Linked DNA regions of Homo sapiens: regions 1 and 2 are each linked to region 3. Evidence: promoter capture Hi-C in human tissues and cell types (Jung and others, 2019). All regions are on one chromosome and are shown on one strand. The core of a region is centred on a gene start or on the middle of the fragment in contact, and the rest is flanking DNA. Distances in the headings are between cores, read along the strand shown.

Region 1 (4,553 bases), core at 492-2,991, 1.1 Mb before region 3:
ATATATATAGCTGCATATCTATCTATCAATCATCTATAATCTATCTGCCCTCAGAAATCTCAATTCCTGACTGTTCAGGAGAAGATGGAGAAGAGCCACATAATGTGGGCCTTCGAGTGATTCTGGATGGGCAGTGTGCCTTTTAAAGTGGTTGAGGGTGCACTGGTTTCTTTTTATTAATCTGGAAATGTAGCAGGCTGTGGTACCATATCAAGAGCCCCAGACTCAGTCAGAAGCCCTTGGTTCCATTTCTGATCTTGCTCTTTCCTAGCTGTGTGACCTTGAGCAAATCCTTATCTTCTCTGATCTTCAATTTCTACCTTTGTAAAATTGTACTAATAATGACACCTAACTTAAAAGCTTTTTAGGAGGGTTATTCCCCTCATTTTTGCAAGCGAGGAAACTGAGGCTTAGACATTCATTAATTCTTCCTATAGACATTTTTTATTTTTGAGATGGAGTATTGCTCTGTTGCTTAGGATGCAGTAGAGTGGCATGATCAACAGCTCACTGCAGCCTCAAATTCCAGGGCTCAAGCAATCCTCCCACCTCAACCTCTTGAGTAGCTGGGACCACAGACACGTGCTGCTACACCTGGATAATTTTATTTATTTAATTTTTTTGTAGAGATAGGGTCTTGTCATGTTCCCCACGCTGGTCTTGAACTCCTGGACTCAAGCAATCCTCCCACCTTGGCCTCCCAAAGTGCTGGGATTCGCGGTGTGAGCCACTGCACCTGGCCACAGACGTTTATTGAAGAATGATATAATGGGAGGGACAAAGAGAAGAGCCAGATAAAGCAGGTCTTTGAGTGATCCTGAATGGGCAGTGTGCCTTTTAAAATGGTTGAGAAACGTTGTTCTAAAGATCAAAGATAAAATAGAGAGAAAGCAGAGAAGAGTCTGCAATGCTGAGCTTCAGGGACCTCAATGTAGACCTCCAAAGACAAAGACATACATATTCTGTCTGGTTCCTGGCCTTTCAGGAATCTTGGGAAATCCTGGGTGAAACTATTTCATTTCTGGACAATAGGATGGGGTTGTGTGTGAGTCAGGGTCCTGGCAGAAAAAGCACAAAGGGGTGATTAAGGAGGTGTTCATAAAGATTCATCTTACAAATGGAGGTATAAGGAAAACTGAGGAGGAACAAGGAAGCACAGCCCAGCTAATACAGAGAGGAGCTGCTTCCCTTTCCACAGATCCAGTCCTGAAGGGCTAAAGGGAAGGAACAGTTTCTGGAACTAACAAGAGCCATGACTCCAACAGTGGAGCTGAGAGGAACTGTGGCCTTGGAAAAAGGAGCATGGCCTCTGCCCTTGGCTAGGGACTGAGGAAGTCAGGAGGAAGAAATAACCCAATCTCTTTCTGTTCCCCTCAACATTCTCCTATTGGTGCCTCCCATTGGCTGAATCAGAATAGAAGCTGGAAAGTAAGGGAGCTCACTGATGCAGCCTTGGAGATCAGTCCCACCTGAGACACGGAATGGGGTGGAAAAAGTGGGAGAATGCCCAGCACAACTCCTTACAAAGAAGAAGGGTACAGAAGTCCATTTTAGAAGGCAAGGTCTATGTATGTTGGGGAAGAAAACTACTGAGAGGCCCTTTAGCTAATTGAAAGGAGAAAGTGGTTCCATTGGAAGGGACAATCTGGCATTCCCTAATGGCCACATATCAAAGGAAGGCTTTGATTTGGCATCTCTTGGCACATGTACCTGTTTGGTATTGAAAAGTCAGTTCCAGAAAGCAAGACGTGAATCAACTCCCCAGTAAAGAGTTAGATTGGATTGCCACTTGATATTCTAAAAGAGGTGAAGAAATGGAATGTTTATCTCCTTGAAACTTATAGAATGTTATTTTGTGGACACTGTGGTGCGTCACCTAGTCCCCCTTCAGGAATGAGGGACTTACACCCTGACTGCTGGTAGCCCGATGCAGGGACTGGCTCTGATGAGTCCAGCAGGTGGGTGTTGTATCCAATGACTGATCAAGGTGCGGAGGTAAAGGCCCATTCCCTTCATCCCAACTAGGGTTGACGCTGAATGGCCAGCCCAGCTCCAGAGTGCCCCTTGGGGGCATTTAGCCATCAACAGGGTGCATTGCAAACCAGCTTCTCCCTCTGCCCAGTCCAGCTTCCTTCTCCTCCTTTCCTTGGGTATAAACCTCAAGAGCATGTGGGGCACACCCTGTATCCCAGAGTCTACTTCCTGACACTCCCACAAGCACAGTTATTAGAAGCTCCCTTATTAGCAATCCTTAAAAACAAAACCACTGTTGAGAGTTGACAAGCAGTAACAATAACAGACATCTGTGAAGCTTCATACTTCACTCAGCACTCATCACTCACTTAGTCTTCCCAGCAATCTGGAAAGGTTGGCAGACACTTGGAGGACTGGTGCCTTCCCTATTTTATTGTCTCACAAACAGGATGCCCAGCGTGGATGGGTATCAGCAAAATCCTGTTGTAGGCAGTAATTAGAAAATTTAGGATGATGATTGCCAAACTGTTTGATGAAACATGAGTACGCTACCAGATGTTAACAGGTGTTCTGTTTTAAAAAGTGGGAGTGATGTGTAGTCATATATTTTTGGAAAAGACTAAAATTGGTTTCTTGGCTGGGTGTGATGGCTCATGCCTGTAATCTCAGCACTTTGGGAGGTCAAGGCAGGAGGATCGCTTGAGCCCAGAGTTTGAGACCAGACTGGGCAAGATTCTTGCTGTCTCTATCTCTTTACAAACAAAAAATAAAACAATTAGCTGGTTATGGTGGTGTACACCTGTAGTTCCAGTTACTCAGGAGGCTGAGGCAGGAGGATTGCTTAAGCTTGGGAGGTGAAGGCTACAGTGAGCTGTGATCATGCCACTGCACTCCAGCCTGGGTAACAGAGTGAGACCCTGTCCCAAAAAACAACAAAAACGGGCTCTGGGGAGATGGGGAGGAAAAGCTTGGGGCTTTCTCCAGAGCCAGGTGGATTTTCCCAGAGCTTCTGGCTTCCTAGTCGACTCCGCTGAGGCTGTTGAAGGCACTGATGCTTTCAAGAGAGCAAATGAGAAGGAGAAAAATAAGCCTGGGTAGTTGTGTTCCAGCTGACTGATGTGGCAACGGCTCCTGCTGCTCTCCAGGGCTTTGGTCTGCTCCTGCTCACGACCCTCCATGACAGGAGTCCCTGGCTGAAGCCCAGAGCAGCCAACTCTTTTCTTGAGGCTAACTCTATCTCTTTGGTCCAGAAAATATCAAGCCAGAGTTCAAGTATGAGCCTGGCTATCTGATAGCAGGGAGGAAAATGCAAACCAACATTGAATAATATTCCTCTGCCTCATATTTACTTAGTGAATTCTCAATGATTTCCATGAATAGAGAGATCAGAAATGTGGCCAATCCCAAACAGCAGATCATTCCTAAGTCTGATTAGTGTGGGGTATATTTGCATTTGAAAATGAGAATCATGGATGCTCAGGGGTTTGACTTGTGTGAGACTCAGTGGCATCATGGTTCAGAGAGCTGGCTTGGGAGTCAGTGTCTGGTTCAAATCCCAGCTCTGTTCTTTCCTTTTCCTTCCTTTTCATACCTTTTCCTCCTTCCTTCCTCCCTCCCTCCTTCTTTTTTTTTTCTTCCTTTCTTTCCCAGGATGGAGTGTAGTGGCGCAATCTCAGCTCACCACAACCTCTGCCTCTTGGCTTCAAGTGATTCTTCCATCTCAGCCTCCCGAGTAGCTGGGATTAGAGGCGTGCGCTACCACCCCCAGCTAATTTTTGGAGTTTTAGTAGAGATGGGGTTTCACCATGTTGGCCAGGCTGGTCTCAAACTCCTGACCTCAAGTGATCCACCCACCTCAGCCTCCCAAAGTGCTGGGATTACAGGCATGGGCCACTGTGACTGGCCTTCAACTTTGTCATTTCTTACATGTCTTAGGTCGGGTGCCTCTGGAAGCTGGCCCTGAGACAAGGATTTGAATGTAAGTAGTTCACTGGGAGGTGATCCCAAGAGTCATTGTCTGGGCATGGAGAGTCTAATGGTGAGGGAGGGCAGCTGAAAAAGGGTGTGTTATTGATCAGCTTTCTACTATGGACAACTGAGGCTGTGTCATACTGGACAGAACTTAGGAGACCGTGTAAAGCAGGACTCAGAGGGATCCCACCCAAAAGGCAAGGAAGCATGTCCCTCAGTAGCTGAGGGTTGCTCCTGGAAGCATTCACTCTCTGGTAGCTCTGGCCTGCCCCATGTGGGGGTGGAGAGAAAGCTTTCAGATGGAGAATTGCAGGTACCTGCAGTAGGACGGTAGGATGTGGCAAGGACTGGGAGGGTGAAGACTGAGGGGATATGGATGAACCACCAATGGATCTGGTAAGCAAGAAAACTTTCTGTTCCTCTATTTTCTCATGTGTGAAATGTGGATGGCTAATAGCATCTATCTTGTAGGCTGTTGTGCGGATTACAGGAAATAATGCTGTAAAGCAAGGGTCTCCAACCCCAACCGCACCGCCCACCCCGTCCCCCGCCCTGGTAGCAGTCTGTGGCCTTTTAGGAACCAGGTCACACAGCAGGAAGTGAGGAGT
Region 2 (4,691 bases), core at 1,161-3,660, 1.0 Mb before region 3:
TGTGAAGCTGTGGCCAGCCCAATTGGTAATGCACCACCTACATTTGCGTTCCTTCCTTCTCCACCTCATTTCTTTGTTCCCTTATTCTTGTGGCCTGTGATTGCACCCCCAATAAGCACGGTCAGGTAAGCATCATCTCAGGCTCTATTTTCTATGGAATGTGAGCTAAAATATCTCCCAAGAAAAATAGCTCCTTCTTATGTGGGAGGGCAGATTTTGCTCTGAAGAAAATAATAATTTTATTACATTATTATACCACAGAAGAGTCCTAAAGCCATATGCCAGAAACCTTAAAGAACTTCTGCAAAATGTGACGGTTCAAGACAAGATTAAAGACTGGCTTGACCTGACTTCACAGAAACAATGAATTCGGAAAGCAAACAGAGGAGTCTGCATGAATGGAGTAAAATTATTACTGTTATCATTGTCATCATCATCTTCACAGCTAACACTTTCTCTGAGCTTACCATATGCTGGGCACTCTTCTATGCACCCTATATCTAGGCTCATAGAATCCTCACGACATAAACCCAGGAGGTCAGCATTATTAATATCTCCATTTTATGGAGGAAGAAACTGAGGTTCAGCCCAGTCAAGTAACTTACCCCAAATCACATAGCTAGAAAGTGGTGGAACTGGGACTTGAACCCAGGCAGTCTAGTTTCAGGGCCCTGCCCATTAACATTACTATCTTGCATGGTCTTTCTCCTTCATCTGAGTATCAGTGATTCAGACATGGATGAATACAGTCTCTGAAAGAAACTTAGCCCATCTCAGTAATTTGCAAATATAGGCTATTCTCTGAATAAATAAGAAAACAAAAAAGAATTTACTGTTTGTGGCAATGGAAAGGGGCCAATGTGAAAACAGCAAATTTATCTTGAAAGAAAAACATGTGAAACTAGGTAAGTCATCATTAGTATTTTCAAGATAACTTAAAGACCCATCATATCTATTAAATGACAGCAGGTTGTCATGAAGAATAAACATAATCCAAGATCCATAATCCAGTCTATAAAGACTGCAGATGAAAATTATAGGTGTCATATTAAAAACACAATAGAAGCAGTGCCTTTCCTGAGTCACTGAAGAAAACCAAGATCACAGAAGAGAGAGATAGGCTTAAGAGCTTCTTCAAGAGCTCTGTGGAAAAGATTAAAGAGGTGAGAATCAAAGAAGAAAAAAAAATGATGTCCATGAGACCCAACATGCATATAATAGAATCCCTAGAAAGAAAAAGCAGATCTGACTGTCTGGAAGTCATGTTTGGGCTTGACTTAAGCCCTCACTTCCACACCATGACACTGTCCTACACAGCAGGGTAGGAGTCCCAGTCAGCCTGGTGCATTGGGAAGAATTAGTTGCAAGGTTGAATCTCTTAAGCTAACCTCTAACCCACAACACACAAAAAAGAGTATAATTAGGGTCTAACCAGTGGTGGGATTCTGTGCACTTCCTGTTTGCATTCCTTTAGAGAATCAATTTACTAATCCTTTGAGAGGTCATCAGGGGAAGAGAATACCCTGTTCCTGCTCTCAAGGAGGTTCCAATCTACTGAGGGACTCGGTCTGCTTCTAAGATACCTAAGATCATGTGTAAGGAAGATGGTCATCACAGACACAGGAACTCCTTTCTGGAGCTCCACATCGCCTGTCTTTCTGTAAATGGATTGCTAAAATGACTCATTTCCCCATGTACAGGGCTCCTCCAATGATGTCACTACAAAATTGCTTAGATATTATTTTAAAGTAGCCATCTTACTTTAAATATGGTATATTAGCCCATTTAGCATAGCTATAAAAGAGTACCTGAGGCTGGGTAATTTATAAAGAAAAGAGGTTTATTTTGGCTCATGGTTCTGCAGGCGGTACAAGAAGTGTGGCACCAGCATCTGCTTCTGGTGAGGCCTCAGGAAGCTTCCACTCATGGTGGAAGGAGAAGGGGGAGCAGGTGTGTCACATGGTGGGAGAGGGAGGAAGAGAGAGGGGAGGGAGGTCCCAGACTCTGGTTCATGCAAGCAGATCGTGCATGAACTCGTTACCATGGGGTTGGCACCAAGCCACTCTTGAGGGCTCCACCCCTAAGAGCCAAACACCTCCCACTAGGCCTCACCTCCAATTTTGGGGATCACATTTCAACATGAGATTTGCAAGGGACAAACATCCAAACCATATCATATGGGAATTGAAATTTTTTATAGATTATTTACAATTATAACCAGACCTGTGAAGAGAATGGCCTTGGGATCAGTCAGGCCTGGATTTGAGTCCTGGCTCTTTGCGGCTTCTATCAGGTGACTCAGCCTCTCTAAGGACTGAGTGTCCTTATCTGTATGATGGAAATGATAGTACAGCAGCATAGTGTTCCTCAAACATTACTGTGTACACCTTGCTAAAATGCAGATTGTATTCAGTACCGGGGGTGGTGCCTGGGAATCTGCATTTTTGCAAGCTCCTGGGTGCTGCTATTGCTGGTCTGTAGGACAGGCCTTGGCAATCTGTGGCCCTCAGACTCATTTTGTTCAGCCCCACAAGCTAAGAAGGTTTTTTTATGTTTTTTATATGTTTAAAATCTTGTAAACCACAAGCAAATAAAAAATTTGAAAAATATGTGACAGTGACCATATGTGGCATGCAAAGCCTGAAATATTTACTGTCTGGTCCTTTACAGAAAAAGTGTGTTGCCTCCTGTTGCAGATTCCAGTTCTACTGCTGCTTTATCCCCTATACCCTTGGGCCGCCTGAATTCACCTGCGGCTGCAGGCAAAGGCATTTTCCAGCATGCTAATAATTCCCATCTCAAATACCTGTGCCTCTCTCTTCTCTGCTGGAAGGCTTTATTTTTGGCACTAGGTGAGCTTTCTCAAAGATCTGGAGACCTAATTGGAGCTGGGGGGAAAGTTAACTTCAATCAGTAGGGAATAGAGTCAGATGGGTAAGTGTGCCAGTGTCCCTGTGAGTGGATTCTGAGGTGTGCTCCATGCTGTTTCACAGAGTGCACCCATGAGAGTGAGTTCCATGTGTCCACGTTAGTGACCTGCTTATTAAGGCACGCTTCATTGGCTTTATCTTGGCTAGCTCTTCCTTTTGATGTGCTGGTACCAGCTTACATAGGTTTTTGAGAATCAATGTGTGCATCTCTTCCCTCTGTGTTCAGTGATGTCATGATGGTGACCTAAAATTGACTATGGTGTCATATTTATACCAGGGAAATCCCTAGATGCTATAAATCAGGTTGTTGTTGTTGTTATTGATTTTTTTTTTTTTTTTTTTGAGACAGAGTCTCCCTCTGTTGCCCAGGCTGGAGAGCAGTGGCACGACCTTGGCTCATTGCAACCTCTGCCTCCTGGATTTAAGCAATTCTCTTGCCTCAACCTCCCCAGTAGCTGGAATTACAGGCACCTGCCACCACGCCCAGCTAAATTTTGTATTTTTAGTAGAGACTACCATGTTGGCCAGGCTGGTCTCAAACTCCTGACCTCAGATGATCCACCTGCCTCTGCCTCCCAAAGCGCTGGGATTACAGGCATAAGCCACCTTGCCCGGCCTGTTGTTATTGTTGTTGGACAGCCAGATGTTAGACATTTACCAACATACCATTTCCTTACTTGTCCTTTCTGGCCCAAATAAACTATGTGTACCCAAGTCCTTGTCTCAGGGTCTGCTTTGGGTAGAACTCATACTAGGAGAAGTACCTACCTGCCTCATAGTTTTGATGTTCCTGCACCAAAATCACACAAGATCACATCTGAGAATCATTAGCACAAGACTTAGTACGTGACAGTCACTTAAATGTCAGTTCCTTCTTCTTTCATCTCTTTCCCTTAGGAAAAGGGAGACTCCACAGCATTTTCCAAGATACCTGCCCTACAGGCTTTTGGTACCAAAGTCAGCTCGGGCCCCCTGGGCCACCTGGTCACCTTACTGGAGGCTACAGAATGACTTATTTGGCCTGTGTCCACACACAGACCACCACGCACAATGGGCAACAGGACATGGGCTGAAACTTGAATTGGCGTCAGGAAGGAAGCATATCCATTGCAACCACATGAAACTGAAAACATGTGGGCAAGGCAACCATGACAGCACCAGCATGTTCTACCAACTCCCACCAATGGGATGCAAACAGTGCCCCTTTGTGCAGAGGTGACAGAAATGAGGCTGGTAGCTCCTTCAGGGTGCTGTAAAGTGAGGTTGGAACTCAGAGCTAGAGAAGAAGAGGTGAGGCCCAGAAAAGTGGGAAGGAGGAGACAGAAAAGGCACGACTTGAAAGAGACTGCCAGGTCGGAAGAAGTGGCTCACCCCTGTAATCCCAGCACTTTGGGAGGCTGAGGCAGGAAGATCACTTGAGCCCAGGAGTTCGAGATCAGCCTGGGCAACATGGTGAAACCCCATCTTTACCCAAAATACAAAAAAATTAGCCAGGTGTGGTGGCGCATGCCTGTGGTCCCAGCTACTTGGGAGGCTGAGGTGGGAGGATCCCTTGAGCCTGAGAGGCTGAGGCTGCAGTGAGCCAAGATCTCACCACTGCATTCCAGCCTTGGTGACAGAGTAAGACCGTGTCTCTAAATAAATAAATAAATGAGAAAAGAGAAAGAGACCGTTAGGTGCCACCCCATATCCATTTTCCCCTTCCTACTTAGTAACGACCCCAATTTTTAATTCAGTGCTCAGCCAAAAGACCACATGACC
Region 3 (4,821 bases), core at 2,090-4,589:
CCTGGTAATTTTTTATTTTTTGTAGAGACATGTTGCTGGGCTGGTCTCAAGTGATCCTCCAGCCTTGGCTTCCCAGAGTACCGAGATTACAGGTGTGAGCCACCATGCCCAGCCAGTAGGAGGCTCTAGTAATTGCAGACATTGTGATACAGGCCGGCTGGAGAAGAATTCAAGGAAGAAGGAAGGAATGAACCAAACGAAGTTATTTTTTCAGCCTCATCTTTTGCCTCTTCTCCCCTTGTAATCTTGACTTCCAGACACTGGATAAGGTCTATGACGGGCGACAAAGTGCACACAGCAATGACAGCCTAAGGGAATCGTGGAAAGTGTACCAGAGGAAGTGGTGTTTAAGTAGAGATCTGAATTTGCAGAGGAATGTAGCAAAGTGCATTGGAGAGGAGGAGCTAACCAGAGGGGCACAAGCCTTGATTATCTGAAGACCAGGTGGGATCTGAAAAACCATAAGAAATTCAGTTAAGCTGACAGCAATGAAAGGGACAAAACAGTGTTAGAAATTAGCATAATGTGTTCTCCAACAGAAAGTTCCAATAGAACTTTTTGCAATAATGAAATTTTCTTTATCTGAACTATCCAATACAGGAGCCACTAGCCACATGTAGCTACTGAGCACTTAAAATGTGGCTGGTGTGACCAAAGAATTGGATTTTTAGGCCAGGGGCGGTGGCTCACACCTGTAATCCCAGCACTTTGGGAGGCTGCGGCGGGTGGATCACAAGGTCCAGAGTTCAAGACCAGCCTGGACAATATGGTGAAACCCCGTCTCTACTAAAAATACAAAAATTAGCTGGGCGTGGTGGTGGGAGCCTGTAATCCCAGCTACTCGAGAGGCTGAGGCAGAGAACTGCTTGAACCCGGGAGGCACAGGTTGCAGTGAGCTGAGATCACGCCACTGCACTCCAGCCTGGACGACAGAGCAAGACTCCGTCTCAAAAAAAAAAAAAGGAAAAGAAAAAAGAAAAAAAAAAGAATTGGATTTTTATTGAAGAACTCAGGAACTGAATTTTAAATTTTATTTAATTTTAATTAATTTAAATTTCAATATTCACACATGGCTAATATCTACTGTACAGCAGAGCTCTTACAGTAAGAGACCCTTCTGAATAGTAGAGTGGCAGATAGAAGGAGAGGCTAAGCTTTGCCATGTAGGCAGTAGGCCCTTTCAGACTGGAAGGGACCTGGATAAACTAAACCTGGTGCCTGGCAAGTGCTGGCCAAGTGCTTGATGTGCTACCCTATTCCCTCTCTCTGCAAGGATATTTGTAATTGAGCTAGATGCTCTGAACAACGAAGGTCTAAAGACACAGGGGACTGGTTCTCTGATGGCACAATTTGAGAGAGCTATTTTGGGTGTGAATGTCTTTTGCCTACATCTACCACCTAGGATCAGGGTCAGACCCACTGTCTTTTAAGAGGGTCAACAGTGTAAAGGCTGTGTCCAAACTTGCATCTTCTTAGACCAAACAATAACCTTCCTTCCCTCCCTTGGTCCTTCTCTCCCCTCCTTCCTTCCATGACTTTGTGCTATGCTGGGTTTTGGGAAGAGGAGGTGGAACAACGCAGTACCTTTTCTTTTCTTTCTCTCTCTCTCTTTTTTTTTTTTTTTTTTTTTTTTTTGAGACGGAGTCCCATTCTGTCGTGCCCAGGCTGGAGTACAGTGGCTGGAGTATCTCGGCTCACTGCAACCTCAGCCTCCAGGGTTCAAGGGATTCTCCTGCCTCAGCCTCCCGAGTAGCTGCGATTACAGGTGCCCGCCACCAAGCCCAGCTAATTTTTTTTTTTTTGTATTTTTAGCAGAGACAGGGTTTTGCCATGTTGGCCTGGCTGGTATCAAACTCCTGACCTCAGGTGATCCGCCTGCCTCAGACTCCCGAAGTGTTGGGAATACAGGTGTGAGCCACCGTGCCCGGGCAGTACCTTTTCTTTTAAAAGCTCACAGATGAGTATAAAAATGTCCACGCACTGGCTGGGAGCCAGATGATTTGGGTTCTGGGTTCTAGTTCTGTCTCCCCAGACTTGCTGTCTGTGACACAGCTTTCCCATTTGTAAAATGTCAGGGCTGCAGAGGACTTCTGAGGTTTCCGCCCTCTCCTACCTCCTGGGAGATTATGTCATGTAATAATGCTAACAGTGGTAATAAAAACCCAGCCACGTTGAGTGTTCCAGGTTTCACGCACTGTGCCAAATGTTTCACATTTGCCATTTCACTCAATCCTCGTGGCCGTTTTACAACCCTCATTTTATAAATAAGAACCCTGAAGCTGCCTGAGTTTAGGTAACTACTTCAGGGCCACACAAGGAGTAAGTAGTTGAGTTGGGATTTGAATATTGATTCCAAACCTTGAGCTCTTAATGACTTTGCTGTATACATTACTTCTTGCCACAGGTGGGCCAGTGACGAACGAACGTTGGGTTAAGCAGGGAGGTATTCTTGTTAGGATTATTAGCAATGCTTAGTGTATGTATGTATTGTTAATTTTATTATTATTTTTTTGAAACAGTCTCGCTTTGTCGCCTAGGCTGGAGGCAGTGGCGCGATATCGGCTCACTGCAACCTCCGCCTCCTGGATTCAAGCGATTCTCGTGCCTCAGCCTCCCGAGTAACTGGGATTACAGGCACGAGCGACCACGCCCGACTACATTTTGTATTTTTAGTAGAGACGGGGTTTCGCCATGTTGGCCAGGTTGGTCTTCAACTCCTGACTTCAGGTGCTCCGCCCGCCCCAGCCTCCCAAAGTGCTGGGATTACAGGCTTGAGTCACCGCGCCCGGCCTGTATTTATTTTTATATAGAGAAGGGCGAGGGAGCGGGGTCATTTTGTTACCCAGACTGGTCTCGAACTCCTGGGCTCAAGCGATCCTCTCGCCTCGGCCTCCCTCCCAAAGTGTTGGGATCACCGGCCTGAGCCCCCTGCCCGGCCTCGCTCTACGTTTTTTAGGCGCATTCTGAACGTGAAGTGTATACACTGAATTCTCACAGCAACTGCATAGGGCATCAGTACCAGTGCCCTTACTGTACAGATGGGGAAAATGAGGCTCAGACAGGCGAAGTAAGTAGCTTAAGTTCACACAGAGAGGAAATGGCAGGGATTCAAAGCCTAGGAGTCCGCCTGCAACCCTCTCGCCTGACCGTCCAGTCTTCAGCTCCGCGGAGCCTGGGCCTGGGGCTGGGGCTGGGGCTGAGGCTCTGGAAGCCGCCGGGACGCAGACGCCACTGGGCCCCAGCGTCACACCTCGGCCGCGCACGCGCTCTCGGGTTCCGGGCCGGAGCGCGCGGCGGGAGCGAGGACGGCGGCAGGGAGCGTGCGCGCGGTGACGTACCGGGCGCCATGTTGGAGGGTTGGTGGTAGCGGCTTGGGGAGGTGCTCGCTCTGTCGGTCTTGCTCTCTCGCACGCTTCCCCCGGCTCCCTTCGTTTCCCCCCCCCGGTCGCCTGCGTGCCGGAGTGTGTGCGAGGGAGGGGGAGGGCGTCGGGGGGGTGGGGGGAGGCGTTCCGGTCCCCAAGAGACCCGCGGAGGGAGGCGGAGGCTGTGAGGGACTCCGGGAAGCCATGGACGTCGAGAGGCTCCAGGAGGCGCTGAAAGGTGGGGGTAGCTGCCCCCTCTCCATTCCCCCTCACCTTCTCCGGCTCGCTCTTCTCTCCTTTCAGGGCGGATGGTTCCGAGGACCGGGGCCGGGCGCGGCGTGGGGAGAGTGCTTCCCGGGCTCCCATCCCCCTCCACCTCCCCAGGGGCGGGGAGCCCTGTGGGCAGCTCTCTCCCGCCCCGCTCTGGCTTTGTGTCGGCCGCCGGCGTCTGGGCTGGGGGAGGGGAGCCGGGGAAACTCTTGCGGGGGCCCCAGTCTTTCTCCCACCCGTTCAGGGGACGAGTGGCGGACCCGCAGACCCCTCCCTCCCAGATATCCTCTTTTCTCCACCAGGCTACCCGTACGCTAGGCGTTGGGGTGGGAGAAAAAGTAAACGGTTGGTGGGGGCGGGGGTAGGGGGTAGCATCGCAACTTTTAAGTTGTCTCAGTATGCCTTTTTCAGGGCTTTTGAAGTCATCTTTCCGCGCCCTAATTTCGAGGTGGTTGCCTTCACTGTTCTTGATTGCACGCCTTCCACGCAACAGGCTTGAGAACAGTGGCTTACAAACTTCGAGTAGAGAGATTTCAGCGTTTTGAGAATTATTCTTTGACATTCAGAATCATTTGGGGACGGCAACTTGGGGTAGTTGGTGCTTCTTAGAAAGGCAGATTTATGGACTTAGATGAACAATTGGTGGGAGTCGGGGCCTGGGGATTTTTATTTTCACTGGATTCCCAGCTTAATATAATGCTGGTGTTCCCCCGGACCACACTTCGAGAAGCACTGCGTTAAAAATGGTTTGTGAAGTTGAGTGCCCCCTTTAGGAGGATTCTTGTTATCTGTAAAGAGGGTGACATGTTGGAAGTAGAACTTGGAGGATTGAGGTGGTAATTTGGTTGAGAGGCCTTATTTTTTTAATTTTGTATTTAATTGATTTTTAATAAGGTAAAGGACTAGGAGGAAAGTTTGTTTTTAGAGCGCTTTTGAGAAAACTGATAACGTTTTTTTTTCTTCCTTCATCTAGATTTTGAGAAGAGGGGGAAAAAGGAAGTTTGTCCTGTCCTGGATCAGTTTCTTTGTCATGTAGCCAAGACTGGAGAAACAATGTGAGTTGAAAACATGCATTTGTCGTTATAGACCAGTGCATTATTAAGAATTGCTCAGGAAAGGGAAAAAAGTATATTTTGGGATAATTAAATAATTCATTCTAAATTGTAGAAGTCCTGGTCATTTAAATAAT

What was found. Contacts are between HindIII fragments. The study calls those that stand out against the background at their distance.
Region 1: a fragment that was not itself captured here is called in contact with the fragment with the promoter of PPP4R2 in region 3 in 1 of the 25 tissues and cell types used here (lymphoblastoid cells).
Region 2: a contact is called between a fragment that was not itself captured here and the fragment with the promoter of PPP4R2 in region 3, in 1 of the 25 tissues and cell types used here (lymphoblastoid cells).

What each region holds. Positions count from the first base shown.
Region 1 is chr3:71,938,415-71,942,967 of GRCh38, forward strand. No RefSeq gene overlaps it. Among named protein-coding and RNA genes, the nearest start is that of PROK2, 160 kb to the left of the region's middle. The HindIII fragment of the contact is 3,696 bases long and covers 1-3,589 here.
Region 2 is chr3:71,989,565-71,994,255 of GRCh38, forward strand. LOC105377157 (a long non-coding RNA gene) reads left to right here and starts at 4,135. Exons shown (of 2, transcript XR_940957.3): 1 at 4,135-4,220. The HindIII fragment of the contact is 8,690 bases long and covers 1-4,691 here.
Region 3 is chr3:72,993,472-72,998,292 of GRCh38, forward strand. PPP4R2 (protein phosphatase 4 regulatory subunit 2) reads left to right here and starts at 3,340. Exons shown (of 9, transcript NM_174907.4): 1 at 3,340-3,600; 2 at 4,606-4,687. The coding sequence starts at 3,567. It overlaps LOC124909395 (a long non-coding RNA gene), which reads right to left and starts at 3,720. Exons shown (of 2, transcript XR_007095961.1): 1 at 3,636-3,720; 2 at 1-451. RefSeq lists enhancers at 2,965-3,014, 4,275-4,324 and a silencer at 3,195-3,824. The HindIII fragment of the contact is 8,748 bases long and covers 1-4,821 here.